3 separate regions of the Homo sapiens genome follow, and regions 2 and 3 are each linked to region 1. Evidence: promoter capture Hi-C in human tissues and cell types (Jung and others, 2019). All regions are on one chromosome and are shown on one strand. The core of a region is centred on a gene start or on the middle of the fragment in contact, and the rest is flanking DNA. Distances in the headings are between cores, read along the strand shown.

Region 1 (4,853 bases), core at 595-3,094:
AGAGGATGCTCTCAGTCCTGCCAGTTTATGGACTTACAGGGATGTAAGGAACTCAAGACAGGGAAATAGCCTCTGTCTCCAAAAGGATAGCGGAGATGAGGTCCCTTTTTTATTTTTTAAAAAAACAATATAATATAATTGATGGATTCAGACCGTTCACGAGAGACTATTACCTCCACGCCCAGCTCAGGCACCTTCTCTAGAATCCCTTTCCTAATAATGTAAGTGCCCCTGTCACCTCCATCTATCCATTTTTGTTCTTTTAAGCCTATTTTATATTATTTGCTTATATGCCAAACCCTAAACGATGAGTTCTTGAAGGTTAAAATTATGTTTTATTCATCTTTTTTCACTAGCCCCCGCATAGTCGCTGGCATACATACCGTGGTGCTCAATAAATGCATGTGGCATTAACTAAAAGTTTGCTGTTTCTGGAATTCGTCTGAAACCTGAAACACTGCAACAACATCTCACTTAGAATGTTGCCTTACCCTTTTGCCATAATTTTAGAGTGAGGAAGTAGAGGTCACTAGATTACGTGTCCTTTTATGAAGAACCTACAGCTCAGGGCAGAAAGGCACTTGCCGGAATCACCCTGCCAGGGAACTCTGAACCCCGCTGCGCCGCCGCTCCTGATCTCTGGGGTTTCAGGCGCCTCCTCTCTTACAACCCTCTCCTGGGGAAGTAAACCCCATCAAGACACCACCACATCCTTCCCCAGCGACTCAGCCTGGGGTCACAAAGGCCTTTACGTCCCACTGAAAAACGGTTTTCTTTCATTTGTGCCCATTCGTTCTTGCAGCCCCTTCCCCAGATCGAAGACTAGGGTCTTAGTAAGGAGAGGTAAGGAGGGAGGGGAAGAACCTGCCTGGCCCCCCGCGGAGCTCTGCAGGGGGCGTCGCGGCTGCACGCCAGCGCCCGCACCACCCCAGGCGGGAAGGGAGTTATCACACAGGGGGTCGCACGCAGATCTCGGGGACCGTGGGTGCCACGAGGTCAAACTGGCAGAGGGAGACGCTGCAGCTGCTGTAACAGCAAGGAAAGCCGAAGCCCCCTTAGGGGATACTTTACAAAATTATTTTAATCACCGTGCAAACCTAATAACTTGACCCAAGCGCAATCACCTGTATTCACCCAGAGTAAATATTCCTAAAATCCCGTTCAGTGTGTCTGTGTCTCTCCCGCCTCTTTCCGTTTCAGGCAAATGTCTACCCCCCCTCTCCCCCCACCGTTAACACCTCTCTGCAGCGTGGGAAACAGTGCCCAGCAGCTCAGTCCTCCGCTTCCCGCTCTGCTTTTTGCATCCCATTCGGACTTATAGGAAGTAGTTATTTTTTGGTGGTGGTGGAAACTGGGCAAGAAAGAAGACGCTAAGCTTGGCCGGGGCCAGGAGAAATATTGAGAAGGGTCGTTACCTTCCATCCGATCTAAACCAATCATCTCAAACTTGGCTACTCTTTGGAACCACCTGGGGAGCTTTAAAAATTATGGACGCCCTGATAGCACCGCAGAGGTTCTGATCTAATTGATCTGGGATGCGGCCTGGGTATCGCGATTTTTTTAAAACTCCTCAGGTTATTCCCAGCTTGAAAACTATGGATATAAATTTCTCATTCCTCTTCCCACCCAGACCAAAAAAAAAAAAAAAAATCTAAGCCTAAGTTGATGGCCCAGGGAATCTGGCACCTGCTCCCCTGCAACCAGCCAGTGCTGCAAGGTCCCCGAAAATCGGCGCGAGCGGCGACGCTAAACACGCGGCGGCGGGGCGAGCGGGCCAGGCGGGCGGTGCCGCGCGTGGCCCCGCCCCCGCACGCCTATGGGCGCGAGGTGCGGGCCCTGACGTCACTCTTGTCAGGGCCGCGGCACATGGGCGGCCGGATGCGCTGAGCCCGGCGCTGCGGGGCCGCGGAGCGCTGGGGAGCAGCGGCCGCCGGCGCGGGGAGGGGGGTGGGGTGGGACGGCGCACCGCCTCCGGTGCTGGCACTAGGGGCTGGGGTCGGCGCGGTGTCTTCTGCCCTTCTGCAGCCGTCGACATTTTTTTTTCTTTCTTTTTTTCAATTTTGAACATTTTGCAAAACGAGGGGTTCGAGGCAGGTGAGAGCATCCTGCACGTCGCCGGGGAGCCCGCGGGCACTTGGCGCGCTCTCCTGGGACCGTCTGCACTGGAAACCCGAAAGTTTTTTTTTAATATATATTTTTATGCAGATGTATTTATAAAGATATAAGTAATTTTTTTCTTCCCTTTTCTCCACCGCCTTGAGAGCGAGTACTTTTGGCAAAGGACGGAGGAAAAGCTCAGCAACATTTTAGGGGGCGGTTGTTTCTTTCTTATTTCTTTTTTTAAGGGGAAAAAATTTGAGTGCATCGCGATGGAGAAAATGTCCCGACCGCTCCCCCTGAATCCCACCTTTATCCCGCCTCCCTACGGCGTGCTCAGGTCCCTGCTGGAGAACCCGCTGAAGCTCCCCCTTCACCACGAAGACGGTGAGCGCTGCCGCGGCCCCGCTCCGGGAAGGGACGACGCTCCGGGGGTCCCCCTCCGCGGCCGGGCACGCCCGCTGGAGCATCCCCCAACCCCGCTCCCGCCCTGTCCCGCGGCGCCCCGGCCCCGCGCTGATGAAATTGAGGAGCTCACCCAGCACCCTTCCTCCCCTTCCTCCTCCTCCATGAAAGGGGAGGGACCCCTCCTGAGCTACATTTAAAAGAGCTTCGGGCACCCGGCCTCCCTGGGTCCCGCTCCTGCGGCGCGGGTGGGAGGTGTAACTTGACAGGTCAGGATCGTTCCCTAGAACGAGGCACACCCGCACGCAGAGCGAGCCCGCCTGCGGAGGGCAGAGCCTCCCGGGCTGGGGAGGAGAAACCCTGGGGCCTGGTTCTGTGCGGGGCAGGGGGCGGGGGTCGGCTTGAGGGAGGGGGTTTCACTGCGTAGCCTGGGTTTTGGGGTTGTGTTACAGCTTCTGTTACTGGTTAGTATTTGGAACTCACGAGGTGTGAGAGAAGACTCGTTTTCTTCTGGTGAAGGGTAGCTGAGAAAGCGGGGTGGGGGCTGGGGCCGGTGGGGGGAGTGGTCTCTCGGCGGGAAGCCGTGCACGCCTCCAGCGTTGACACTTTCCCGGTGCACTTTTTCTGGTGGGAGGGGAGAGCGGAGCAGGCTCACGTGTAACCGCGCAGGAGCCTCCTCTGGCTTGAGCCCTTTCTTGGTAAGTCCCAAACCTTCCCAAGACAACCTTGGCCTTAGCAGTAGAGGAGGGGTACGTGTGATGAGGCCCCAAACCCGGCTAAGTGATGCCACGGATTTGGGTTGATGCGATTTCATGCCTTCGGTATCACAGTAGCAAATGCGAACCGTGCGGCTCACAGTGTAAAGTTCTGAAAGGTTATTTGGCTACAAATAGCTTGGGAGTACTTGCACCTTCTTTTCTAGGAGAGGACAACCTGTTGCATTGCAAGAGTTTGCAATCTGCAGATGATAGCCAGGGACCCCTCCCTAACTATCCTTTAAGGAAGAGCATTTGGGAGGAAGGGGCTGCCTGCAGGCTTTTGCATCTGTGGGTGTTTTAAGTCAGATTTTCAGATGAGATGGTAGAGGGTTAGAATGGATGGCAGTGGAGGCTGTGTTTCTCTGAAGATGAAACTCAGAAGCAAATTCCTTAATCCCAGATTCCACCCACGACTGAATACTAGAATTGGCAAGATCCGGAATGCTTGTTAAAGACCTAATGGGCGAGCAGTACTTCCAGGTAGCAAATAGCTGCATACTTCCAACATAAATGTATAGAATAACTCACCTTTTCCAATAGCTCTGCTTTTGAAAGGTTTTGTAAATGCATACTCTTTGTAAATTGGATCATACTCAAATGTTTGGAGAAGAGAAGGAAGAAAACACTTTGTATTTTTTTAAACTCCTTTTGTAAAAATCAGTGTGCCCCAGTGGCTTTAGAAGCAAACACATGTGAGCTCAGAAAGTTCTCATTCTCTGCCAACATGAGGCATTGGTCAAGTTCCCTCAAGTCTCAGAGCCTCCGAGTCTTTGTTGTAAATGGAGGTAATTGTTATTTTGCAAGTTTATTGTGAGATTTTTGAGATAATATATGGAAAGAACCAGGTATCCAGTAGGTACTCTAAACATGATGTTAAAGAAGGGTGGAAGGTCCCTGCTTTACCAAAATTAAGACCACTAACTCACTGGCTTTGTAAGTCTGAATGACCTCCTATTGCTGCTGTGATGAATTCCTGGAAGATAATTCAAGCCTGGTTATTGGCTGTTGTTTTCTTAAAAATGACAGCAGTTGTATATAATCACAGATGTTATATTCCTATTTTAGGTTTAAGTTATTACTCTTCTCAAATAATGTGCTGAGACTGTTCTCTGGTTTTTATCCTAGATCAGCCTGTAGCCCTGCCCCAAGGACTAGTGCCTTCTTTCCAAAGTAAATAGGAAGATGTTGAAAAACAGGCAGAGATCCACGTCCTGCCTGAACTTTTAACTCTAGATCTACAAAAGACAGCAGCCAGAGAAGGACCCTGCCATTCGTGAGAAATAGTCTTATAACAGGCCAGGAAAAGTGATAAAAGAGCGGTATTGTTTTTCTTTTCTTTCTTTTTTTTTAAGTCCAGCTTTCCCTTCTTCTGCAGCATTTAGTAAAGATAAAGACAAGGAAAAGAAGCTGGATGATGAGAGTAACAGCCCGACGGTCCCCCAGTCGGCATTCCTGGGGCCTACCTTATGGGACAAAACCCTTCCCTATGACGGAGATACTTTCCAGTTGGAATACATGGACCTGGAGGAGTTTTTGTCAGAAAATGGCATTCCCCCCAGCCCATCTCAGCATGACCACAGCCCTCACCCTCCT
Region 2 (4,853 bases), core at 1,363-3,862, 60 kb before region 1:
CCTCTACCAACTCAGCCTTTCCACAGTCTGCTCTTATGGTCTCTCAATCTTGAACACCTGATTCATATATATATGTTTCTCACCCCCAGGTCTGATCCCTTACATGCTTGAGAGTCCAAGATAAAATCAAAGGAAATATAAACAGGTATTGAGTAGGACTAAACAGGTAGGACCTGTTACCACAGGTATTAGTTTATTATTAATACCACAGGTATTAATTTCACAAAATTAAATGACATTTAATTAAATGACATTTAATTAAATGATGTCATTTAATTTTGTGAAAACCTAACCAGTATGACACTGCACATATTATTATAAACACAGAAGTTTTGGTTTAAAGGGTGTCTTGCTCAGGGCAACACAGGTAGTAAGAGGAATAAAACTGGCCAGGAATTCGGACTGCCAATTCTATGCTCTTTCTATGTGAACACAGAAAAGCTCTTGAGAATGGGTTTGAAGATAGTCTTGAAAGGATTTAATAGGCATTGTTTAATAGGCGTGGTTTATTTCTGACCAGCATCTTATCCCTTGAGATCCTACCTTCCCTGACTTTATGTGATTCCATTGGTGATGGAAATTATTGATCTTTCTCTAATCATTTCTTGTTCTTCCCCAAAAGCTGGGTACATGCTTCAAGGTTGTTCAATCTTTTTACTACATTCCTTTAACACTTTAAGTAGTCTGGAGGATGGGCATAAGAGCCAAGAAAGGTCATTCAGCATTCATGTCTCCAGAAAACGATCATTGGACTATAGGAAAAAGCTTCATTTTTCCACTAAGTTTGCTAAACTGGAGCAATATTTTTCTAGAGCTGCTGGAAGTTGTATTTCCTGGCTGCAGGAAGGAGCTCATCTGCTGTAGTTGAGAAAAAGGCAGAAAGACCAGATGGCATGCTCTTTCACTTCTTTATGCTTTTGCACATATGGGTCTCTATTTCTAGAACACCTGTTTTGCTTTTCCCTCCAAAAAGGAAAATATAGCTAACTCCTAATCCTATCAGGTTTTTGTTCCTTTAGGAACTAGGTCCTCTTCCCCTGTGCTGAGGTAGATGTTCCTGCCCTATACTCGAATAGAATCTTATGTTTACACCTATAATTGAAGTTATCACAGCGCATTGCAATAACTGTCTATTGTCTTTTCCACCCTCTTTATGAAGAGCTCCTCATGGAGAGTAAGCAAGTCATAGTTATCATTGCATTGATGTCATTTTAAAAAAACGACAGCTACATAATAGATGCTCATTGTTTGTAGAATGGGTGGATGGTAGGGGATCTAAGGTGAGTTTGAAAATTGTTTCTCAAACTTCAGAAGTTATTGAAAATTATCCTACACAAACAAGTGGAGGAAAATTTAGCTCCAAAAGTCCTGAAATTCTAAATTCTCTGAAATTAACATGAGTAAAACTAGACCCAGTGAAAATTATAAGCAGATACATTTTAGCACAATATAAGAGGAAAATTTCTACCAATCATACACATCCTCTAATAGAACTGATTATTTCACAAACTGACCAAAGGTGTTCAAGAAAGGAATGCTATATGTTTCAAGATTTTAGTGTCATTATTTCATTATCTTCTGGCTTCCATTATTTCTGTTAAGAAGTTGGCCATCAGTCTTTCTTGTGCCTTTGAAGGTGATCTTTTTTTTCTTACTTCATTTCACTGGTTTTAAGATTTTTCTCTTTATCTTTGGTAATTATTAGTTTTAGTGTGTTCTGTACAGAGATATTCTTCTTTGTTACTCATTATTGGAGTTTATAGCACTTCTTGAAAATGTGATTTGATTTTTGGGGTCATTTTTGGAAAATCTCATCCAATATCTCTTTAGACATTCTTCTGTTCTATTTTATTTTTTATTTCTTTTTTTTGGACTTCAGCTGTATATATGACCTTTTCATCATGTTCCCCTGTCCTTCTATTTTTAATGCTATTCTCTTGCTGTATTATTCTTGGTATTTTTTTCTGACCTATCTTCCAGTTCACTAATTGTCTCTTTAGCTGTGGTTAATTTGGTGTTAAACTATTTAGTTCTTAATTTCAGTTACTATATTGTTTAGTTCTACAGTTTTTTTTATTCTTTTTCATAGTCTCCAGTTCTCTGCTTAAATTCTCCATTTTGTCATCCAATTTCTTGAATGTATTAATTATACTCAGTTTAAAGTTTATTCCTGATAAACTCTAACATATAGATTACTTGTGAGGCTATTTCTGTGATCTGCTTTTTTATGTGCTTTTTGATTAATTCTTACCTTTTTTGCCTGCCAGGTTTTAAAAATTGAACTCTAAATATTGTGTGTAAAAAATTACACAGATAATCAGAGCTATAAAAGATATTATCTTTCTCAGGAAGAATTTACTTTTGCTTGAGACAACAGTCACAATAAAAGTAGATCACTTACTCACCTTAATCCCTCCTTAGTCCCCCTTGGTGGGCCCTGATCTCAATTTTTAGCAATGTCTCTCCTATATGAATAAAAAAGAAAACTCTAATTAGTTTTTCAGGCACCAAATGACACCAGTTGGGCTCAACTATATGAACCTACTTTTCTCTGGGTTTCTGCTTGCTCAAGTACTGGCTGCATTGGTATCTCTTCAATGCCTTCAAGATTAAACACACACACACACACACACACACACACACAAACACACATACCCCTTCAAAAAGGTATCAATCTAGAGCTACATACACATATACATCTATATTTCTTACTGTCTTGGCAGTTCTCCAATACCTTCAAGAACTATTGAATAACTACCAAACATACTATTTTATATTATATATATGTTGTCCACCCTTTTTAGTAGTTCTTAGCAGGTAAGTTTGTCTAAACAAATTAGCTTGCCATGGCCAGAAGTGAAATTCCACTATGTTGGAGTTTGACTGGATAAATCTTAAACTTTATCTGGAAGAGTAAATGCAAGAGAATAGCCAAGGAAATTTTTGTTTAATTCAGGAGAATTTGTCTTTATATTATAAAGTTTTAGTAATAAAACCACATGACAGTGAGACAAGAATAGAGAAATAGATCTATATAACAGAGAAAGGTATCAAGAGATGTTGGTTATATTATATATTTATTATAGTACTTTTTAAATATTATATAAAAGGAAGCATTTGCCATCATATAAAATGAATGTCAGATGAATTAAAGATCTAAAGATTCAAACAATCATAATGTTGAAGTAGAAAAGCCTTTCGTAGGTTAGCACACAAAGTAAAAACAAATGACAGATTTGTCTACATTATATAAAACTTGTATAGGGCAAAAGATACCATAAGCAGTGTTAAAAGGTAAACATATAAACAACAAACTGGGAAAGACATAAACAGCAGACAAATGCACACACACACACACACAAACACACACACACATATACACAAAGTGGGACAGGTGAAGAGACAATTTACATAAAAGGTACTAGAAATAGCCAATAAACCCATTGAAAAATGTTCAACCTCATTGTATTAAAAAAATCTGAGAAACAAAATAAGAGTTTTCTAATATTTTAGATTGACAAATATTTATATATATTTTTGGCAAGGCTGTGAAAATATAGGATCTCATATACTCTTGGTGGGAAGACAAACTGGTACAAATCTTATGGAAAGCTACTTTACAATATTTATCAAACTTTAAAACATTCATATCATTTCACTTCTAGGAGTTTCCTCCTACAAAAATATTGGCACTTGGGTAAAAGACATATACTGAAGCATTATTTCTAGCAGTATAAAATTGGAAATTACCTAAATGTCCCTAAGTAAAAGAATGGTTAATTAAATATTCGTGAATATATTAAATAGTATATTATATACTTATTAAAATGCATAAGGCAGGTCTATACTTATTATCATAAACTCTATATTGATTAGTGAGAAAAGCAAATTATAAAAATTTTATAGTATGATGTCTTTGAAAAACCTCTGTGAATTATTCCATATACATTATGTGTGTAGGTGTCTATGTACTATTGTGAATTATTACATATATATATTGTGTATGTGTCTGTGTATGTGTGTGCAAGGGGCTTGTTGAGAGAGCTGAACCCAGTAACCAACAGAAAATGGCTGTGGGGTGATTGTTTACATGCCCCCCAACCCCATTCATATGCTGCTATATCAGGCAAATCCCAAAGCTTCTTTTCTGATCACTTGCAGCTATTAAGAAATCCAGCCAGTAAAATGAAAACTTCAACTTCACATCCAATTGAAAACTTCTCCTCTCTTGCCAGCACAGGCCTAATCCTAGTTTCTAGGATTAATCCTAATCCTAGCGGGGTAGAGAGAATGTCTTCTCTTACACTCTTCCTTTCTTTCCTCCTACCGTTGTTGATGACTCCAACAGGGTCAAGTCCTGAAAAAGGAGGTGTCAGCTGAGTACGGTGGCTCATGCCTGTAATCCCAGCACTTTGAGAGACTGAGGCGGGTGGATCACCTGAGGTCAGGAGTTCAAGACCAGCCTGGCCAATATGGTGAAACCCCATCTCTACTAAAAATACAAAATTTAGCCAGGTGTGGTGGTGGGTGACTGTAGTCCCAGCTACTCAAGAGGCTGAGGCAGGAGAAGTTCTTGAACCCGGAAGGGGGAGGTTGCAGTGAGCCAAGATCATGCCACTGCACTCCAGCCTAGGCAACAGAGGAAACTCCGTCTCAGAAAAAAAAAAAAAAAAAAAAGGAGGTGTCAAAGGAAAAGGACAAAATGTCTTACTCAGCCAGTGCTGGCTGTGATAATCCCATCTGTCATGACAGGCATCTAAATTCTGGCTCCTTCATGGAAACCTTTATGGGAACCTTCAACATTACTGAGGGAGCCACTCTCCACTTACCCTCCTGCAACTTCTCACAGTGGT
Region 3 (4,853 bases), core at 1-2,500, 41 kb after region 1:
TGTACCCCAACTTAACTGACTTCTAACCGGCTGTGGTTATGAGTTCCGCTGGTCTCACCTTTCAGTGGGTTCAAGGGGGCAGATTTTGCTGACACCATAGGCAAGGAAGCATGATGGTAAACACCACTGGAATGAGAGGCCTTGTTAATCCAGCCCAAGCTCCTGCCAAGTTAGAAGCTGAGGAGTCTAGTCTGGGCCACTTTGAGTACTGATGCATGATCCCAGGGCGATGTGCTGTTCTGGGCACAGGGTCACACTGGGTGACATCTAACAGGCTTTGCTTGGGCTGTAGCTAGAGGGAAATGGGAGCTGGGGAGTGTGACAGGAGGGAAGTGTGGACTCTCCACCTACCAAGGGGCCTTCCCACATACTGTCCATCCCATTCAGCGCCCTGAGGTGGGCGTCATTTCTCCCACTTGACAGATAAGGGAATCAGACCATGAGGCAGAGTAACTGGCCCCAGGCCACACACAACTACGTAGTGTCAGAGTCATGATGAATCCTGTTTGTCTACACCTTCTGATGAACTGAGCTACCTCGTGCAGGACAGGCCCAAGGAAAGGGGCTCAGGCCAGAGTGGGAGCATTGAAACAGGGTTCAAAATGTCTGTCTGCCCAAACCAAACGTTAATTTGCATACTAATAGTTTAAGGGCATAGATATAATACAGACCTCCCCCAAGAAGTGACCTTTGAAGCCAACTTCTTCTTCATGTGACGGAATACATCAGACACCCTGTCTGCCGGGAATCCTTACCCTTCTCCTAGTGAGCCGTGGTCTCTGGCCTATCCAGAAGCTCCTTAAAAATACTAGTGCATGAGATGTAGCATTGACAGGAGCCCTGGCCTGTGGGTCAACAGTTGCTTTGTCAAATGCAATCTTGCCCTTGGCACAGCTCGCCATTCAGGAGGATGGAGGAAGTGGACGAGAGAGAGGGAGGTAAAAGAAGGGAGGGAAAGGAAGCAGGATGCCTGGCTGCCTGGAGCTTCCTTGGGCTCTTGTCCATGAGAGGAAGCCATACCTACCTCTCTGGGGTTTGCCAACTCTTGTCCAGGAACCTATTGGGCTAGAGTGGAGGGGAACTGCAGAGTCTCCCCTTCCTTTCTCTTCTGCCCCCATGAGGAGGAAGTGAAGTGGAGCAGAAAGAGCGTGGGCTATGGTTGAGCCCACTGGAGTCTGCACTCCACCCAGCCTCCCCCTGGCTTTCTAGCTGTATGACTTTAAGCAGGTGGTTTCACCCCCTCTCCCTCTCCACTTTTTCCTCTTTAAAATGTGGGATACAGTGCCCGCCTCGCAGAGGCTGATGGTTCTGTGGAGTGTTGTGCACAAGGCTCCAGCCCAGGTCCTGATGCAGGACTCTCATTCTGGAAGGCTGGGTGCCTGGCTCTCCTTGGGGCACAATTAGGCTTCCTGGCTGCATTCCTGGGGCATTCGCATGAAAAAGAACATGGGCTTTAGAGTGAGAAGGATGGGGAGATGAGTCTCTGTTTTTCCATCTGCGTGGGCAAATTATTTAGCATATCTGAGCTTGTCTTAAGCTTTCTGTTTTCTATTCCTTTATTTCCACATATGGAAAATGGGTATATGAACTATTCTGCCTTCATATAGCTATTGTGACAATTAAATGAAGTAATCTCTGAAGAACCTTACTATCAGTATTACTGATATTACCAGAGAGGTGGCTCATGTTTGTAATCCCAGCATTTTGGGAGGCCAAGGTGGGAGCATTGTTTGAGCCCAGGAGTTCAAGGTTTCAGTGAACTATGATCACGCCACTACACTGCAGCCTGGAGACAGAGCAAGATCCTGTTTAAAAAAAAAATTGCTGATATTGATTATTCAGTAGGCCAGGGAAGCCCGTCTACCAGCCTACAGGACGTCATTGCATTCACCTTCTCAGTAAATGGCAACAGACTCTTTTCCTAATGTTTACACGTAATGGATTGAACTGGCTTAGCATCATGCTTTACCCATATTTCTGTTGACAGCCTGTTACTGTGTGGAGAGAATTGCTGGATAAGAGCCACTGAGATCAAAGGGATCTTTACAATGGGCCTTTCAGTATATTTGTTCTGTAATCATGGACTGAAAACTTACTGAGCACTTGCCATCTGAATGAGGCAAAAAGGAAGTGTGTGTGTGTGTGTGTGTGTGTGTGTGTGTGTGTGTATGCATGTGTATGTGTATGCATGATTTGTTTTTGCCTTAAAATTAGTACATCAACCGTGTAATGTGCAGGACATTTAAAATATGTCAGAGCTATGACAGGTTCCCAGCTACTGGGATCCAGGACACCTTCCAATTTCATCTTTGGCTAAGACTTTCTATCTCTTTTTTCTTCTTCTTTCTTTCTCCCCCTCCCTTTTGATGCCTTTCTTTCCTTCCATAATACCTTTCTTTATTCTTTCTTTATTTCTTCTTTGATTCATTCTTGTATTTCTTCTTGGTTTCTTAATTCCTCTTTCTTTCTCTTCCTTTCCTCCCTGCTGCCCAATACACTTCTGACCTCAGGGCATAGATGCATTGAAGGGCATCTGCTGCTGTGGCCTTTTGGATGGGAACCCTGTAGATCTCAGCTAGGTTGGTTTATCAGCTATAATGTATTCCTTGATTTGGTAAAACAGCCAGCAGCAGAGCAACATGCTTTTACCTCCTCTTTTTTTTTTTCCTCATCCCATTTCCTCCCTCTCTTTGGTTTCTTCTTCCTTTCAAGGGGGTTGAATGGTCTCCTCTCAGCGGCCTTTTTTTTTTTTTTTTTTTTTTTTGAGACGGAGTCTGGTTCTGTCACCCAGGCTGGAGTGCAGTGGCGCAATCTTGGCTCACTGTAGCCTCCACCTCACAGGTTCAGGTGATTCTCCTGCCTCAGCCTCCCAAGTAGCTGGAATTACAAGCGTGCGCCACCATGCCCAGCTAATTATTTATTATTATTATTATTATTTTTTAATAGAGACAGGGATTCACCGTGTTACCCAGGGTGGTCTCGAACTCCTGGCCTCAAGTGATCTGCCTGCCTTGGCCTCCCAAAGTGCTGGCATTACAAGCATGAGCCACCATGCCCAGCCTTCTCTCAGTAGCATTTAACACAGACTCCTGGAACATACATGCACAAAGTGAAAAAAATAACATTTTTAATTTCTGATTTTGAAAGTGAAGATCCTCATTATAGACAATTTGCAAAATATTGAAAATAAGAATTAAAATTTGCCCCTGTTCCTCCCAAAAGTCCCTGTTAGGATCTGGGGGGTGTTATGTCCAGCTGCTCAGTAGCTCGTGCTGTCCCCTCCATGCAGGTTCCATCTAGAATCTGGGGCAGCAGCAGGTAAGGCCAGGTCACTGTTCTGTGGGGCTTACATGGGAGTGGAGGGAAGAGATCAGCAATATCAAACAAATAAAAAAGATCGTTTGGGATGGAGATAAATATTGTAAAAAAAAAAAAAAAACATCAAACAGAGTTGTTTGATGGGTATTGAGCAGGGGTAGAGGAAAGTCAGAGGGTTCGAGGAATTGGCATTTATGCTAATGTCTACATAACGTAGGAGGACTAGGTAGGCAGAGAGCAGAGGAAGAATGCTTTAGGTAGAGAGGAAACTAAATACAAAGGCCTGGGTGGGATCACATTCAGGGGACGCAAGGAGCAGAAGGAAGGCCAGTGTGGCCAAGTGTGTGAGTGAGGTAGAGCCGTGGATCTGATCATATGTGGCAATGGGAAGCCTTGGGAGGGTTTGATATGGAGATGTGACCCACACGGGTCTGCATGTTTAGAATTATCACAGTGTACCGCTGTGGAGACGTGGGAGATAGAAAAGGGATAATGGTTAAAAGTTGCAGTAGTTCAGAGGACAGACAGTGCTGGCTTAGACAAGGGGAATAGTCTGTTTATTTGATTTACTTTCAAGTATCTCTGAACTATTATCTGTATTTTGTATATGTGTTTATATAGAGACCATTTATTGCACACTTTCCGGGTACTACAGATTGTGCTAAGCACTTTGTATGTATTATCTAGTTCATTTTTCACATAGAATCAGGCATAGTAATCTCCTTTTACACATAAGGGAATTGAAACTCAGGTAGGTTAAGAAAAGAAGGGGGAAAAAGTCAACGATAGTCCCTTTCCCCAATACAGACCTTATTAGGATTTAGAGGGGCATTTTTTGGGGGTCATTTATTTACAAAGGCCCAAGTTTATAACATACAGGTGACAGAATCAGCATTCAGACCCAGGTCTGACTCACTTCACAGCGTAAAACGACTGTCCTGTACAAATTTAAATCCTGCTATAATGTTATTGTGGGTGTAAACACTCTCCCCCTATGCAATAACTCAGCTTATAGGTCAGTCTCCATTGCAATGAGAATGTTTACCAGACAATCACAGAAACTCACCGTACACAAATAAAGGCTTATTGTTCACTCATCTGTAATTGCTATGGGTTGCTCAGGTGGCTCTGCTGATCTTGGCCGGACTCACATATCTAGAGTTCAGGTGATTTAAGCTGACCTAGGCTGGCCTCTTCTTTCATTTTCCAGCAGGCTAGACTGGGCATGTTTATGGTAATGACAGAAGTGCTACAGAAAAGGGGCAGAAACATGCAAAGCCTCTTTAGGCCCAGCCTCAGAACTAACACTATCATTTCTGCCACATTCTGTTGGCCAGTGCAAGTCAGAGACCAGCCCAGATGCAAGAGGTAGGGAAATAGGCTCTGCCTGGAAGTGCAGGTCCCATGGAATAGGACATGAATGGGTTAGGAATGAGCCTTTGGCCATCAGGACGTTAGTGTTAAGCTTTTGCAGAAAGGACTTGTTGGACAAATAACAGATTCCTGCTGCGGGAATGGAGACCAGCTAATATGGC

What was found. The method cuts DNA at HindIII sites, captures the fragments that hold promoters and counts their contacts. A contact is called where the count stands out against the background at its distance.
Region 2: a fragment that was not itself captured here is called in contact with the fragment with the promoter of HLF in region 1 in 1 of the 25 tissues and cell types used here (thymus).
Region 3: a contact is called between a fragment that was not itself captured here and the fragment with the promoter of HLF in region 1, in 2 of the 25 tissues and cell types used here (dorsolateral prefrontal cortex and liver).

What each region holds. Positions count from the first base shown.
Region 1 is chr17:55,263,116-55,267,968 of GRCh38, forward strand. It overlaps HLF (HLF transcription factor, PAR bZIP family member), which reads left to right and starts at 1,845. Exons shown (of 4, transcript NM_002126.5): 1 at 1,845-2,484; 2 at 4,636-4,853. The coding sequence starts at 2,370. RefSeq lists a silencer at 1,649-1,968. The HindIII fragment of the contact is 14,198 bases long and covers 657-4,853 here.
Region 2 is chr17:55,202,201-55,207,053 of GRCh38, forward strand. It overlaps a transcript of STXBP4 not described here. Among named protein-coding and RNA genes, the nearest start is that of HLF, 60 kb to the right of the region's middle. The HindIII fragment of the contact is 5,408 bases long and covers 1-4,853 here.
Region 3 is chr17:55,304,408-55,309,260 of GRCh38, forward strand. The region is part of intron 2 of HLF (HLF transcription factor, PAR bZIP family member); the gene reads left to right. Among named protein-coding and RNA genes, the nearest start is that of HLF, 42 kb to the left of the region's middle. The HindIII fragment of the contact is 3,820 bases long and covers 1-3,160 here.